2 separate regions of the Homo sapiens genome follow, and region 1 is linked to region 2. The links are contacts of gene promoters, found by promoter capture Hi-C in blood cells and fetal thymus (Javierre and others, 2016). All regions are on one chromosome and are shown on one strand. Each heading gives the region's core, a stretch centred on a gene start or on the middle of the fragment in contact. The rest is flanking DNA. Distances are from core to core; before and after follow the strand shown.

Region 1 (6,927 bases), core at 1,135-3,634, 300 kb after region 2:
GCTCAGTGGCCGAGGAGGGCCCCAGGAGTCACAGGCTCTCACTGATCCCCACCACACCGAGGCTGCTTCCTTGTACCCCTGGTTTTAGGTCCAGCGTCCTCACCACTCTGAAATCAATTACTATTTTTACTTCTCTTTTTTTTTTTGGCATTAAGTAGACTTTTGGTTTTTAAATTATCTGAAAGTAAAAGCACAGAAGTGACATTCTTCTTGAAAGTGAAAGCAAGTGTGGAACATTTTTAACCATGCTGTTTCCTATCTGTTCTAGTTTCTGTAGGTAGTGGGTTCAGAGTAGCTCAGAGTATAAGGTGTGGGATGTGTGTGGGGGTGAGGGTTGGCCCAGGTGGACATCAGCATTTGACTCCTTCCTGGTTGCTGTAATTTGGGAGGGACTAACCAGGCTGCTAGATGTGCAGAAGGGTGGGCGCCACCTGCTGGTTGTGTGCATAAACCGCCTTTTCACCCAGTCAATCTTCATTCTTCTTTACTTGGAAATGGCAAATGAAGCCTTTCTATACGTGACTCTAGCAAATTAATTATTTCAGTCTTCCCGAAACACTTTATGTATATAATACCTCATGGTAGCATCATGCAAATGTCCCTTTGCCTTTGCTTGTGCTGGTATACCTTACGAAAAACAATCTGTACATCCAAGATGTCCCCCAACATCACCTACTTCAAAAATCACCTACTTCCAAGATCCATCCCTTACACTCTCCAAACTCCCCAGTCCTCAGAGACCCTAAGACACCTTGAACTACATCTAATCACCATGTGGCTAATGTGTTTGTCTTCTCCCAGAGGGGGACAGAGAATTAGCATTAAATTATGGCAGATCCCAGAAGATGTGCACAGGTCCTAGGACACAGCAAGGTGTTCAATAACTGTTGAAAGAAAGAATGCAGGCAACATATAACAATAAATAGGAAACAGACTGCATTTCGGTTTGTGGAGATGTGTGACATCTAAATAGAAGAAGAATGTCCTCCTTTGGTGATAGAGTTCCAAAGAGTTATTGCACTTATAAACTTTTTATACTAAGTATTGATGCTGGCAACTCAAAAACATCCCTTTTTAAGATTTTTAGGGGCCAAAATTCATACGGACACTCCCAGATGTTAAGGTTTTGACTTCTAAAAAGAGACGAACTGCCTGTATTTTAGGTTTATTTTATTTATTATTATTATTATTTTTTGAGACGGAGTCTCGCTCTGTCGCCCAGGCTGGAGTGCAGTGGCGCTATCTCGGCTCACTGCAAGCTCCGCCTCCCAGGTTCACGCCATTCTCCTGCCTCAGCCTCCCAAGTAGCTGGGACTACAGGCTCCCGCCACTACGCCCGGCTAATATTTTTGTATTTTTAGTAGAGACGGGGTTTCACCGTGTTAGCCAGGATGGTCTCAATCTCCTGACCTCGTAATCCGCCCGTCTCGGCCTCCCAAAGTGCTGGGATTACAGGCGTGAGCCACCACGCCCAGTTCATTTTAGGTTTTACTAACTCACTCTTATCCTTTAATCTGGCCACACAGATACCTTACCAGGTCTTAAGTCACTGTTAAAAAAAATTTTTCCCCAAACGTATCACATATTACCAGGATTGTCTGACTACATGTGTGCCTCCCACAAAGGGCTTAGCCTCTGTGTTGGGAAATGGAGATGTGCTAGAAAGCCAGGCTCGAGCATTGTCTATGGCCATCAGTGCTGTGCTAAATAAGGACTTGTGGAAAGGCGCCCTCTCGTGGGGAATCAGCGAATTAAAAATAAAAGAAGTTACACAACTGTAGCCATAGATACAGATAGATATGACACAAAATCTTCCTATTGCTTCCCTACACGCTCTCTTTTCAATGTCTTTCAAGAACTAAAAGTTTTTAATTTTAAGGATTTCAATTTATCAGTTTTTTCTTTTATAAAATATAAAATAATTTTTCTTTTATAAAATAGTACTTTTTATGTCCTGTTTAGGAAATCTTTGTCTACCCAGTATATTTTCTTCTGTTTTAATTTAGAAGCTGGATTATTTTAACCCTCACATTTAGGTCTATGATCCATTTCTTACAAATATTTTTGTATGGATTGAGGTAGGGGTCAAGGTTCATTTATTTCCCCACATGGATATTCAAATGACCCAGAATCATTTCCTACCATTTTTTTTTCCCCTACTACATTGCAGTGGAGTTTTGTCATAACTTAGTTGGCCGTATATGTATGGGAACGTTTTTGACTTCTTATTTTGTTCTATTGTTCTACTTTCAAACTAATACCGCAGTCGTAGTTACTGCAATGTTATAACAAATTTTGATATCGGGCGGTATAAATCTCGCAAATTTATCCCTTTTTAAAATATTGGCTGGCTGGGCTATTCTCTTTGCTCCTTCCTTCCTTCCTTTTTTTTTTTTTTTTTTTTTGAGTTTCACTCTTGTTGCCCAGGCTGGAGTTCAATGGCGCGATCTTGGCTCACTGCAACCTCCGCCTGCCAGGTTCAAGCGATTCTCCTGCCTCAGTTTACCAAGTAGCTGGGATTACAGGCATGCGCCACCACGCCTGGCTAATTTTGTATATATTTATTAATTTTTTTTAGGCGGAGTCCCACTCTGTCGCCCACGCTGGAGTGCAGTGGCGCGATCTCCGCTCACTGCTACTTCTGCCTCTCGGGTTCAAGCGATTCTCCTGCCTCAGCCTCCTGATTAGCTGGCATTACAGGCGCGCTCCATCACGCCCGGCCCTAATTTTGTATTTTTAGTAGAGACAGGGTTTCACCATGTTGGTCAGGCTGGTCTCGAACTCCTGACCTCGTGACCGCCCGCCTCGACCTCCCAAAGCGCTGGGATTAAAGGCGCGAGCCATCGCGCCCGGCCCTAATTTTGTATTTTTAGTAGAGAAGGGGTTTCACCATGTTGGTCAGGCTGGCCGGTCTCGAACACCTGACCTCGGGTGATCCACCAAAGTGCTGGCAGAGCCAACACGCCCGACCAATTCTTTGCATTTTCATACACGTTTTAGAATTTGCCTGTCAATTTTATTTAAAAAACCCTGCTGGGATGAGAATTTCTTTAACTCTATACAAAAAAGTGAAGATAATTGACATGTTACAATATCAAATTTCTAACTCATAAATATTGAATATTTTTTCATTTATTTAGGACTTCTTTCATTTCTCTCAGTACTATTTTATAGTTTTCAGCCTAGAGAAGTTGCACATTTTCTAACAGATTTATTTCTGTTTGTTTGATGTTTGTGGGTGCTATAATAAATGATATCTTAAAATTTTTATTTCTTATTTGATGGTTGCTAATAAATCAAAATACAATTGATTTATTGTAAATTGACTTTTATCTATCATCCTTGTTAAGTTTAGTTATAATTTTAGTTGTTTTGTACATTATTTTTGATTTTACACGAACACAATCATGTCATCTGAGAATAATAAGTTTTATTTTTTCTAATCTGAATATCTTTTATTATTATTTTCTATTTCTATTGTGATGACCATATTATATTTCTCCTTTACTTTATTAATGTTAATTAATCATTAATTGCCTTTCAAATTTGAAAGAGGTTTGAAACTGTTTCTAAAATAAACTCTATTTGTTGATCAGTTATATGTTATTCAACCAAACACTAATCTAGGTTTTGTTGTAAATGTATTTTAAAGATGTGATTAATATTTGTAATCAGTTCACTTTAAGTAAACGAAATTGCTCTATGGATTTCAGACTTGCCTATCCAGCATCCACAATCCTATAAGCCAGTTCCTTGCAATCACTTTCTCTTTCTTTCCCTCTCCTCCACCCCCTTTCCTACACACACACACACACACACACACACACACTCTCTCTCTCTCTCTCACACACACACACACTCTCTCTCTCTCTCTCACACACACACACACACACACGTACTGGTTCTGGTATTCTTCTAGTGCAACTCTGACTGACAGAGATTTTCATACTCAGAGGTAGAGTGTAGAGGAACAGAAAAATGAGTTTTCTGAACTAATTCTGGGTTTTCTGCAATTATCTAATCTAATTGGATTTAAAGGCACTGATGACTATTTTCAGTGGTAAAGAGGGCACTGGTAGTCCATGGTGTGATGTGGCAACAAAGATATGGCCATTAGATACTCCTTGTCAAATACCTATTTTATTTTATTTTATTATTATTATACTTTAAGTTTTAGGGTACATGTGCACAATGTGCAGGTTAGTTACATATGTATACATGTGCCATGCTGGTGCGCTGCACCCACTAACTCATCATCTAGCATTAGGTATATCTCCCAATGCTATCCCTCTCCCCTCCCCCCCCACCACAGTCCCCAGAGTATGATGTTCCCCTTCCTGTGTCCATGTGTTCTCATTGTTCAATTTCCACCTATGAGTGAGAATATGCGGTGTTTGGTTTTTTGTTCTTGCGATAGTTTACTGAGAATGATGATTTCCAATTTCATCCATGTCCCTACAAAGGACATGAACTCATCATTTTTTATGGCTGCATAGTATTCCATGGTGTATATGTGCCACATTTTCTTAATCCAGTCTATCATTGTTGGACATTTGGGTTGGTTCCAAGTCTTTGCTATTGTGAATAATGCGGTAATAAACATACGTGTGCATGTGTCTTTATAGCAGCATGATTTATAGTCCTTTGGGTATATACCCAGTAATGGGATGGCTGGGTCAAATGGTATTTCTAGTTCTAGATCCCTGAGGAATCGCCACACTGACTTCCACAATGGTTGAACTAGTTTACAGTCCCACCAACAGTGTAAAAGTGTTCCCATTTCTCCACGTCCTCTCCAGCACCTGTTGTTTCCTGACTTTTTAATGATTTCCATTCTAACTGGTGTGAGGTGGTATCTCATTGTGGTTTTGATTTGCATTTCTCTGATGGCCTGTGATGGTGAGCATTTTTTCATGTGTTTTTTGGCTGCATAAATGTCTTCTTTTGAGAAGTGTCTGTTCATGTCCTTCACCCACTTTTTGATGGGGTTGTTTGTTTTTTTCTTGTAAATTTGTGTGAGTTCACTGTAGATTCTGGATATTAGCCCTTTGTCAGTTGAGTAAGTTGTAAAAATTTTCTCCCATTTTGTAGGTTGCCTGTTCATTCTGATGGTAGTTTCTTTTGCTGTGCAGAAGCTCTTTAGTTTAATTAGATCCCAAATACCTATTTCTTTTCTTTGGAGAATTTACATAAGATTGGTATTGTTTCTTCCTTAATAGAGGAGAAGAATTTACCGGTGAAGCTTCTGGGCTTGGCATTTTTTTGCATTTGAAAGTCTTTTTAAGGAAACATTTAAATTATTTTAATATTGAAATTTTACATTTCTTCTTAGGTCAGTGTTAGCGAGCTGTTTTTTAAAGAATATCCTTTTCATCGGAATTTTCTATTTTATTGGCATAATGTTGTTCATAATAATGTATAATCAGTAGTGATTCCCTCTTTTTCTTCCTGATATCCATAATTTTCACTTTTGCTTTTATTTTCTTGCCCAATTTTATTAATTTTTAATTTTTAACTTTACTCATTTTAATCCTTTCTAAAAAAATTTTTGAAAAGAGTAACTTTTGACTTTGTTGATTTTCTCTATTGTGTGCCTGTGTTCTATTTCATTGATTTCCTCTCTTTATTATTTATTTATTATTTAAAATTTCAGGAAGAGGTTAGTTGGCCATTCTTTTTCCAGTATTTTGAGAAAAAATTTAGATCTTTGCCCACATTTCTTTTTTCTAATATTTACCTTAAAGTACAAGATTTTCTCTAAGAACTGATTTAGCAGCATTGAAAGTTTTGATGCAGAATATTTTATTATAAGTCAGCCCAAAATGTTTCCTACTTTGCTATGTGATTTATTTCTTCGACTGATGGGTCATTTAAAAACATGTGGCTTAATTTCCACACATTTGGAGATTTTCTAGTTATCTTTCAGTTAGTGAGTCCTGACATAATTTCACAGTGGTCAGAGAACATATGATTTCAGATCTCTGAAAATTTTAAGACATGATTTATGATCCAAGACAGTTTATTTTGGTCAATGTTCAAAGTACATTTGAAAAGAATGTGTATTCTGATAGTTGATGTTTGCTCTATGTATGCCCATTATGTCAGGTTGATTTATCCTCCTCAACTTTACTGCTTGTTCTAATTAATTACTGAGAGAGAGACAGATGTTACTATCTTCAATATAATTATGGAGTTCTCTATCTCTCCCTTTAGTTCTGACAATTTTTGCTTACTGTAATTTGTTTTCACAAAGTATATTTTCTACCATTTTTAAAATTTGCACCATTCTGTGTCTTTATGTATGACAGGTGTTTCCTATAAACAACATAAAATTGATTTAAAAAAATCAAGTCTAATACTCTTTGTCTTTTGATTGTAGTATTTAGACCATTCACATTTAATGTAATTACTGATATAGCTAGGTTTACGTTTGCCATTTCTACTTTTTCTTTGTTTCATTTCTTTAATAATTTTAGTCTATTTTGGATCAATTTTTAAATTATTTCATTTCTCTTCTGTTAGCTTTTTAAGTATATTTTTCTTTATTATTATTTTAAGGTATCCTAGAAATTAAAATGTTCTTTACAATTTTTATAGTTCATTTTAAATTAATATTTTTACTACTTCTCAAACAATGCAAGAACCTTAACTTTCTTTGCCTTTTGCTATTATTATAAATTTTAGTTTGACATATATTATAAATTCCAATATTTTTTGTTGTTTTAAACAGTCAGTATTCACTTATAAAATCTCAAATATCTACCTTTTAAAAGTGATTTTTGTAGTTTTCTGCAATTTCATGCTTTTATCTGGGATCATTTTCCTTAATCTGAATGAATTCTTGTAGTACAAGTTCACTGAAGGTGAATTATTTCATCTTTTTCATGATGTTGTTTTTCTTTTTCTAAAAATATTATTGTAAAAATA
Region 2 (7,088 bases), core at 816-3,315:
ATAGGGAGTAGATACATTTATTTAAAATCATCTCCATTAGTAATTAATTTGATTCATTTCAAAGTTATCCCATTCCATCACAGGCTATATCCTAGTTGTTTAGCCCCTTTTGTTTTTCACTGCACTGTGAGATCCTAGAGGGAGGGGGAGCTGATTTTATTCATGTTTGTATCCCTTGTGCCTAGGGGCATAGAGCAGGTGCTCAGTGACTCTTTATTGGTTGAATGAATGAATACATGAAAAGATGTGTGGATAGCACTAAATGAATACATTAAAAGATGTGTGGATAGCACTAAATATAGAAATCAAAGTATGAATCTTAGGTTTTCTTCTGAGAAATTATTCCCTGTTACCTTGAAGTTATACTCTCTCCTGTTCAAATTCAGATACAAGGAGGTGTGTGTGTGTGTGTGTGTGTGTGTGTGTGTGTGTGTGTGTGTATGCTGGGAGAGAACTACTAAGGAGCTGCCTGAAATTCCTTTTCTTACAGGGCAGAGCAAGCCCAAATAAAACAAAGCATCCAACCCTGGTGCAGGTGTCAGAGTCATTCACACTTGATCTCATGGGGCTGTGTGTCTGTGTATCTTACCTGGAGGATGTCTCCAAACTCAGCCAAGAGCAGTTGTTTCAACTCTTCCTTGCATAGTAAGGCACAGTCCCCATTCCCTTTGGCATATTTGTGGAATACGTCAATCACACTGAGTATGCTATTCAGGAGTTGAGCCATTTTGACAAGTACGGGTGAACCTAAAAGAAGAAACAAGATTTCTCCTGCCGTTAGGATAATGACCACGAGACAGCATTTCCAGAGGGAAAGTGACCCCTCTGGATCTGGGAGAAAGTTTAAGAAGTGAGAGAGCCCCTTCTTAGCTGTACCCCTTCCTTGCCCTGACTCACAGTCGGGGACCAAATCTCATTGCTATAGTGGGAGATGGTGCAAACTTGGTTCCCTTGCTATAAAAAGAGACAATTTCTTAAAAAACAAAAAATGCATTGCAGGTGTTTTACATATCCCATCCTCTACTCCAGACAGGATTCACCTGATTGAAAATCTCATATTAGAACAAAAGGAGGGGAGGCCAGGAAGCCCAATAGAGGCAGGAATAGAAGCCAGCATAGTAGGGCATAATTTTCGACTAACAACTAGCAAACTGGAGGGGGCACTAAATAGATCCCACTGAACAGGTTTCAGTCTTGTAATGAGCCTTTCTTAAGCAAGGAAGAAGGCTGAAAGTCTCTCTTCACGGTCTAAGGAAGCTTTCTGGGAGGCTAAATTCCAGCAAATGCTTCTGGCCTGGATGGTTTTGGGACATGCTTATAAAATGAAATCAATGAATATAAAAGCTGTTACAGATAAAAATAGCAAGTGGGTACATAGCCAAATTAAGGGCACAGATTATAGGAGGTATATATAATCAGTTAGGTCCACATTGGCCATGCTGGGAGACTTGGGTCTTTTGGGATCTAAATCTCAATTACATTTTTTTTCTTGTGGAATGAAAATTCCAGTTAGTGGGTTTATAGGCCTCCAAACTGAAGCCCTATCTGCAGAGCATGTTGAATTGCCAAAAGCATACAAACAGTGATGTCTATAAGAAAATAAGTGACAAATAATGGATCACATGGGACAAGCTGAGTCCCTTGTTGTAATTCAATGCAATGAGACTTGAGCATTGCTGGGCCCATGGTCCAGAGCCTTGGCCCTAAACTATTCGGTCTTTCCTAACTTGCACAAAAAGTAAATGCTCCACTATGGGAGACTAAGCTATTCATCAATTGTTCTAGCCCTCAGTTTTGGGATGCCTAGGACACATTGAAGTGAAGGCATTTGCATTTTACAGACACAGAAGTAGTCCACCCCAGCTATTGTCATATTCTCAGATAGAGCCAGAAAAAGGAAGCAGAAGGTAACCAAAGCTGTTACCCACAGGAATTAAGTCTCAGACCTCCCCAGCCTGGTGCATTATAGGGCTCTTGAGAGCCTTGTAGATACTACCAATGCTCCCCTATGCATGTCTTACCTGCTTGAGGAGGAAGGAGCAGAAGATTCAGGAGTCAGAGAGGATACTGGGGACCTAAAAACTCATCCTATTTATAGGGGTTTTAATTATCCTACCAGGCCATCCCAGGAGACACCCATTCTGTGGCAAAGCCTGAATCACTCTGGTCCCAGCCCAGCTCAGCCCAGCTTGACCTCTCCCTCTGCAAACTGTTTGGTTTATTTACTTCCCCCACTTGCTCATGAACCTGTTTGTCACTACAGTAGGTGACGCTGTTTAAGTCCCAGTCCCATTTAATTAAGAGAATGTGTGTGTATGTGTATGTATTTGTGCTGTGAGGGTCCCAAAAGACAGAGGTGTTGGCTGAGTTCATCCTTAATATATGTCACTTGCCAATACTAATAGAGGGCAACAGTCAGCTCATACTGAAGAATGCTATCTATGTGGTCACTTACAAACATATGTCAAAGTTGGAACTAGAGATTCTATTTATTTGGCCAGAATATAGTTCCTGGAAGAGGTTTCTTTTAGACTAACCTTTTTCTTGTGCTGGTAGATATTTGGCTATTAACCTATTAACTTATTTTGAATTACTATTATTTTTTCATTTAACAGCTCCACAGGCTAGTTGGGAGAAGTAGATACATGGTCAGTTTTGGGGATGAGGGGCTCCAATGGTGCAACTTCTACCACTTAAGCCTTCTAAGACTTACTACTAAAAAGTTTGAATTGAGGGACATCATGGAAGTTTATGATATCTGTGAGAGAGAAATGCTGCTAGAGACCCCAGCTTCTGTTCACTTCCCATCTCCGTGCCCTTGGATGCCAGCACAGTGTCTTGAGCATGGGAAATTCTTAGTGAATATTTTTGGGGTAAAGGAATTATTGGATTATGGAAGCACTGAAGAATTGTATGTAAGGTGCAAAAAGCTGTAGACTCACCTGTATTTCTACGTTTGTCTCACATCTAGATCCCTGTTTGGACTTTTTCCTATGTATCCATCAGCCAATCCATTATTATTAATAACACTAACTATTACTTACTATGTGTTCAGGATTCTACAAGGGAATCACAACAGTGCAGAAAGATTTTAGTTTAGTTGGAATAAAGAAGCTTCACATAGAAAAATATTTTGAACTCCAGGGATAGGACATGCTAAGTGCTGAGTATTAGAAACCTAGGCGCATGTGGAGTCCTCATGGCTGGGCCTGGACGTCCCTTAGGAGGTGAGCTTCATGTTGTTCCTGAAAGGATTCAGGTGGGCAGAGAAGAAAGCAAAGAACTTCTGAGTGGGGAGAAGGGAAGAATCAAAGGTACTAAGGTGAGAGTTTGGATTCGAGTGAGCTGGTAAGTCTGTGTTGAGCAGAGGGATTTAAAAGAGCAGAGGGATTTAAAAGAGTAGACTTAGAAAATTTTGGAACTGAAAGGGAAATCTAGCCTCTTAATTTTACAGATGAGGAAACTGAGGTTCAGCTAGATTGACTGTATTTGCCAAGGGTTTCACGGGCTATGACTAAAGCCAGGCCTGGTTTACTTGTTTCCTCACTCCAGACCGATATGCTTTCTGAGACATTCTCTGAGGCAGATTTGGGGCCTACTTTAGGGTTTATTTTAATGAGAAAGCAGAAGTAGGGTTTTGGCTAGGAAAAGTGACATAATCAAAGCATTATTTAGAGGAAGAATCTAATGGCTCTGTTGTAGTTGGTCAGATGTCTCAGTTTGTCTGGCACTAAGGAGTTTCCCAGGACATGAGACTTTCAGTGGGATAATTCTGGGCAATCTGGACCGAGTTGGTCACCCTAAACTGTGGTGTACAAGATAAATTGGACAGAGGAGTACTGGGCAGTGAGACCAGTTAGGAGTCTATTATATGGCATGGGTGAGAAGTGACAAGGACTTCGACCTGGACGCAGTAGTTCAAAACTATAGGAAGGTAGATGGATAATAGCAGGGATAAAGGGATGAGGTCTGGGGACAGATTAGAAGAGGGGCAGGGAAAGTGGGAACATTAGGTGAGATTCCAAGTCTTTAAGTCTAGATAACTAGTAGAACTATGGTACACTGAAGAAATGTAACTTCTGAAGGGGGACTGCTGGGTCTAAGATCTAGTGCTTCTATTGGCATTTCCCAGGGTCTCTGCCTTTTGTAGTCTTGTTATCATCCCTCCAGCTTGCATCCTTGGCTGTTTGGGGTCTCCCAGCACAAGTCAGGACTTTCTTAAGTCTATTCATAAATTCTGAGGGCTGGGTCACATTAAGGTTCTCCTTATACTTTTGCATCTCTACTTAGTGCTCTTCAGTTATGTCTCTTCTCACCTGTTAGAATAAAAGACCTAGAGAAGATTTGGTTGTCCCCAGAGGCAAATAAGAGGAGTAGGGGTGGGATGGGCAGGGGTTGAAGACAATAGCCATCAGGAAACAGAACAACAATGCTGTGTCCCCTTTCTCTTGGCGTGTTCCATGGCTCTCTAGCAACTGTTTCTTTTGGTTAGACAGGCAGTTCTGTTTGTTTGATGTTGCAGTGAGAGAAAGATTATGTTCTTAAGAGTAGGATCCGCTATGTGTGCATTCATTTAACACTTAATACACTCCGATAGAATAGGCAGAGAACTATGTTGATCAGCCAATCAGTTAATCAATTAGTATTTGTGACCATACAGAGGGCGCCCTTTTGTGGGCACTGAGATAAAATGTAGTCTTTGTCCTTAAAGAACTTTCAATGCCACTGGGATTGAAATAAAACACCTTTGAAGGAATCATGAAATGTGACCTTTGTTTCTTTATCTGTAAAAGGAGAGGGTTGGAGCTTTATTTTGGTGTTGGCATTCTGAGATTCTGTCATGCCAATCTTAAGGTTAACAGTGGCTTTAGAGGTAATATTTAAACATTGCTCTATTCAGATATTCGATAAAGGCCTCAGAATTTGTGCTTCTCAGTCTTTCTCTGTGGAAAATGGAGAAGTCAATTATGGGTATCCTGTTTCTTCATTAACATTTATAAATTTCATGAGGACCTACACTATTTTAAAAAATTATTTTTCAGTGTGTTTTGCAGCTTAAATGCAGTCATGTTGTAGTGTGACCTTTGGTCTCAAAGGCAAGATGTTTTTAAGCTACAATTTATTGAAATCTTATTGTGTGCTAGGCTCTGCATTAAGCATTTTATATATATTATCTCCTTAAAAATAATTTCAATTTTTATTTCATATTCCATGGGTATATGTGAAGGTTTATTACATGGGTATACTGCTTGTCATTGAGCTTTGGGATATGAATAATCCCATTGCCCAGATAGTGAGCATAGCACCCAATAGTTTTTCAATCGTTTCTCCCCTTCTTCCCCCTTCTAGTAGTCCCCAGTGTCTATTGTTGTCATCATTATGTTCCAGAGTACCCAATGTTTAGCTCCCACTTATATGTGAGAATATGTGGTATTTGGTTTTCTGCTCCTGTACTGATTTGCTAGGATAATGGCCTCCAGCTGCATCTTATGCACCTGACAAAGGTCTAATATTCCAAATCTATAAACTTATTATCTTGTTTAATTCCCACAAAAACTCCATGAGGCAGAGAATATTGTCTTCATTTTTCAAACAAAGATACTGGGGCTCAGAAAAGGATAAATAACTTGCTCAAGGTCACACAACTTGCAACTGGCTGAGCTGAGGCTTGAACCCATGTCTTCCTGATTCCAAAGCCCTTGTTTGCAATCCCTATGTTATGTTGCCTCTTTTGGAACAGGACTGGTGATTACTCCCTCCCCAATGAGAGAAATAACTTTCCACATAGACTGAAGTGAGTAAGACCAGGGTAACTTCCTTATGACATACTGTGAAGGAATCTGACCTTGAAATGAGAATCTCCTGACCCTTAACCAGTCAAATATTTATTATTTTCTTATGCTTCTCCAGAACTTAGATGATTTCAACACTAAAGGACTTTGTAATCTATTTGGGGAGATAAGACAGATGCTTCTATTTACAGAAACAAAACCCACGGAGAAAAAAAATACCCTTCTCTCTTTACAATTGACAGCTCTGGGCACTGGTTTGACATGAGACTGAAGAAGTTCCACTTGTTGCACATTCCCTGCAGTTCTTGATCCTACTGTAAGCCTTTGCTGTCCATTTCTCTTAGGATGCAGATGTGCCTAGTGGGTGTGACAGGTACTGTTTTGAGCTAATAGAGTTTTCAGGGAGTCTCCTTGTCATATTTTGGCCAAATCATTAAGGATAATTATCATGAAACTCTCAGACTTCCTTTTTCCTTCTTTTGAGATGTTGGGTTTCTATTGAGATGAATCCTACAGGATCCAGAGGATGGCTATTTTATTATAAGGGAAGACCCCTGTGTAACGCTGGGGCAGGCACTTTTTTCTTGATTAGCCCTTTGGCATTAAGCAGGTGGATAAACTGCAGATGGGGCAAATGAACACCTTCCCCTGGAGAGGAGCACAACTAATTAATAGACATAAAACTCTTTGAGATCTCTTGATATTGAAAGGTAATTTATTATCAACTGCACAAATAAGTTCCCATTTAAAAATCTTTTCTTGTAGGTGAATTACTGCCCTGTTAATTATAGGCCATTTCGCTTTTAATAACATCTGTGGGAGTCAGTGGTTTCTGAAGGTGACGCTGATATCAGCGATATTTTTACTCCGTCAGAAAATGTGTTCTGAGCTGAAGGAAGGAAGCCTAGGTTTCCTGGGGATTGAGTGCACAGGTTTCAGCGTGGAGCTGTGCTCCCCCTCCCCAGCTTGCAGCCCAGCCTTTTCTTCTACTGTAGGCTTTTGTTTTTGGATACAAGAGCCAGCATTGCTCCTCTCCCCAACATCACAGGCCCTATCTTCCCCACGATAAAAGGAACTAGAAAATGTCAGAAATCACTGCTAACACAGCCCATGGAATTTTAGGTAATTCCTAGCACATGGTTAATAAGGCTACAGACCAAATCTGAGATCTTCAAAGTGGCTGACCATGGCAGAATTTGGATCATTCAGGTCAGGTTTCTGAGTTTCTTCTTTTACTTTTTGTTAAAGAGCTTTATTGAGATATAATTCACATACCATGCAATTCACCCATTTAAA

What was found. The method cuts DNA at HindIII sites, captures the fragments that hold promoters and counts their contacts. A CHiCAGO score of 5 or more calls a contact.
Region 1: a contact is called between a fragment that was not itself captured here and the fragment with the promoter of RPTN in region 2, in 14 of 17 cell types (total CD4 T cells, M2 macrophages, M1 macrophages and 11 more). The highest score is 11.0, in total CD4 T cells.

Annotation. Positions count from the first base shown.
Region 1 is chr1:152,460,033-152,466,959 of GRCh38, forward strand. No RefSeq gene overlaps it. Among named protein-coding and RNA genes, the nearest start is that of LCE5A, 47 kb to the right of the region's middle. RefSeq lists an enhancer at 474-533. The HindIII fragment of the contact is 5,711 bases long and covers 1-5,240 here.
Region 2 is chr1:152,157,163-152,164,250 of GRCh38, forward strand. RPTN (repetin) reads right to left here and starts at 2,066. Exons shown (of 3, transcript NM_001122965.1): 1 at 2,022-2,066; 2 at 590-747. The coding sequence starts at 727. The HindIII fragment of the contact is 1,857 bases long and covers 1,256-3,112 here.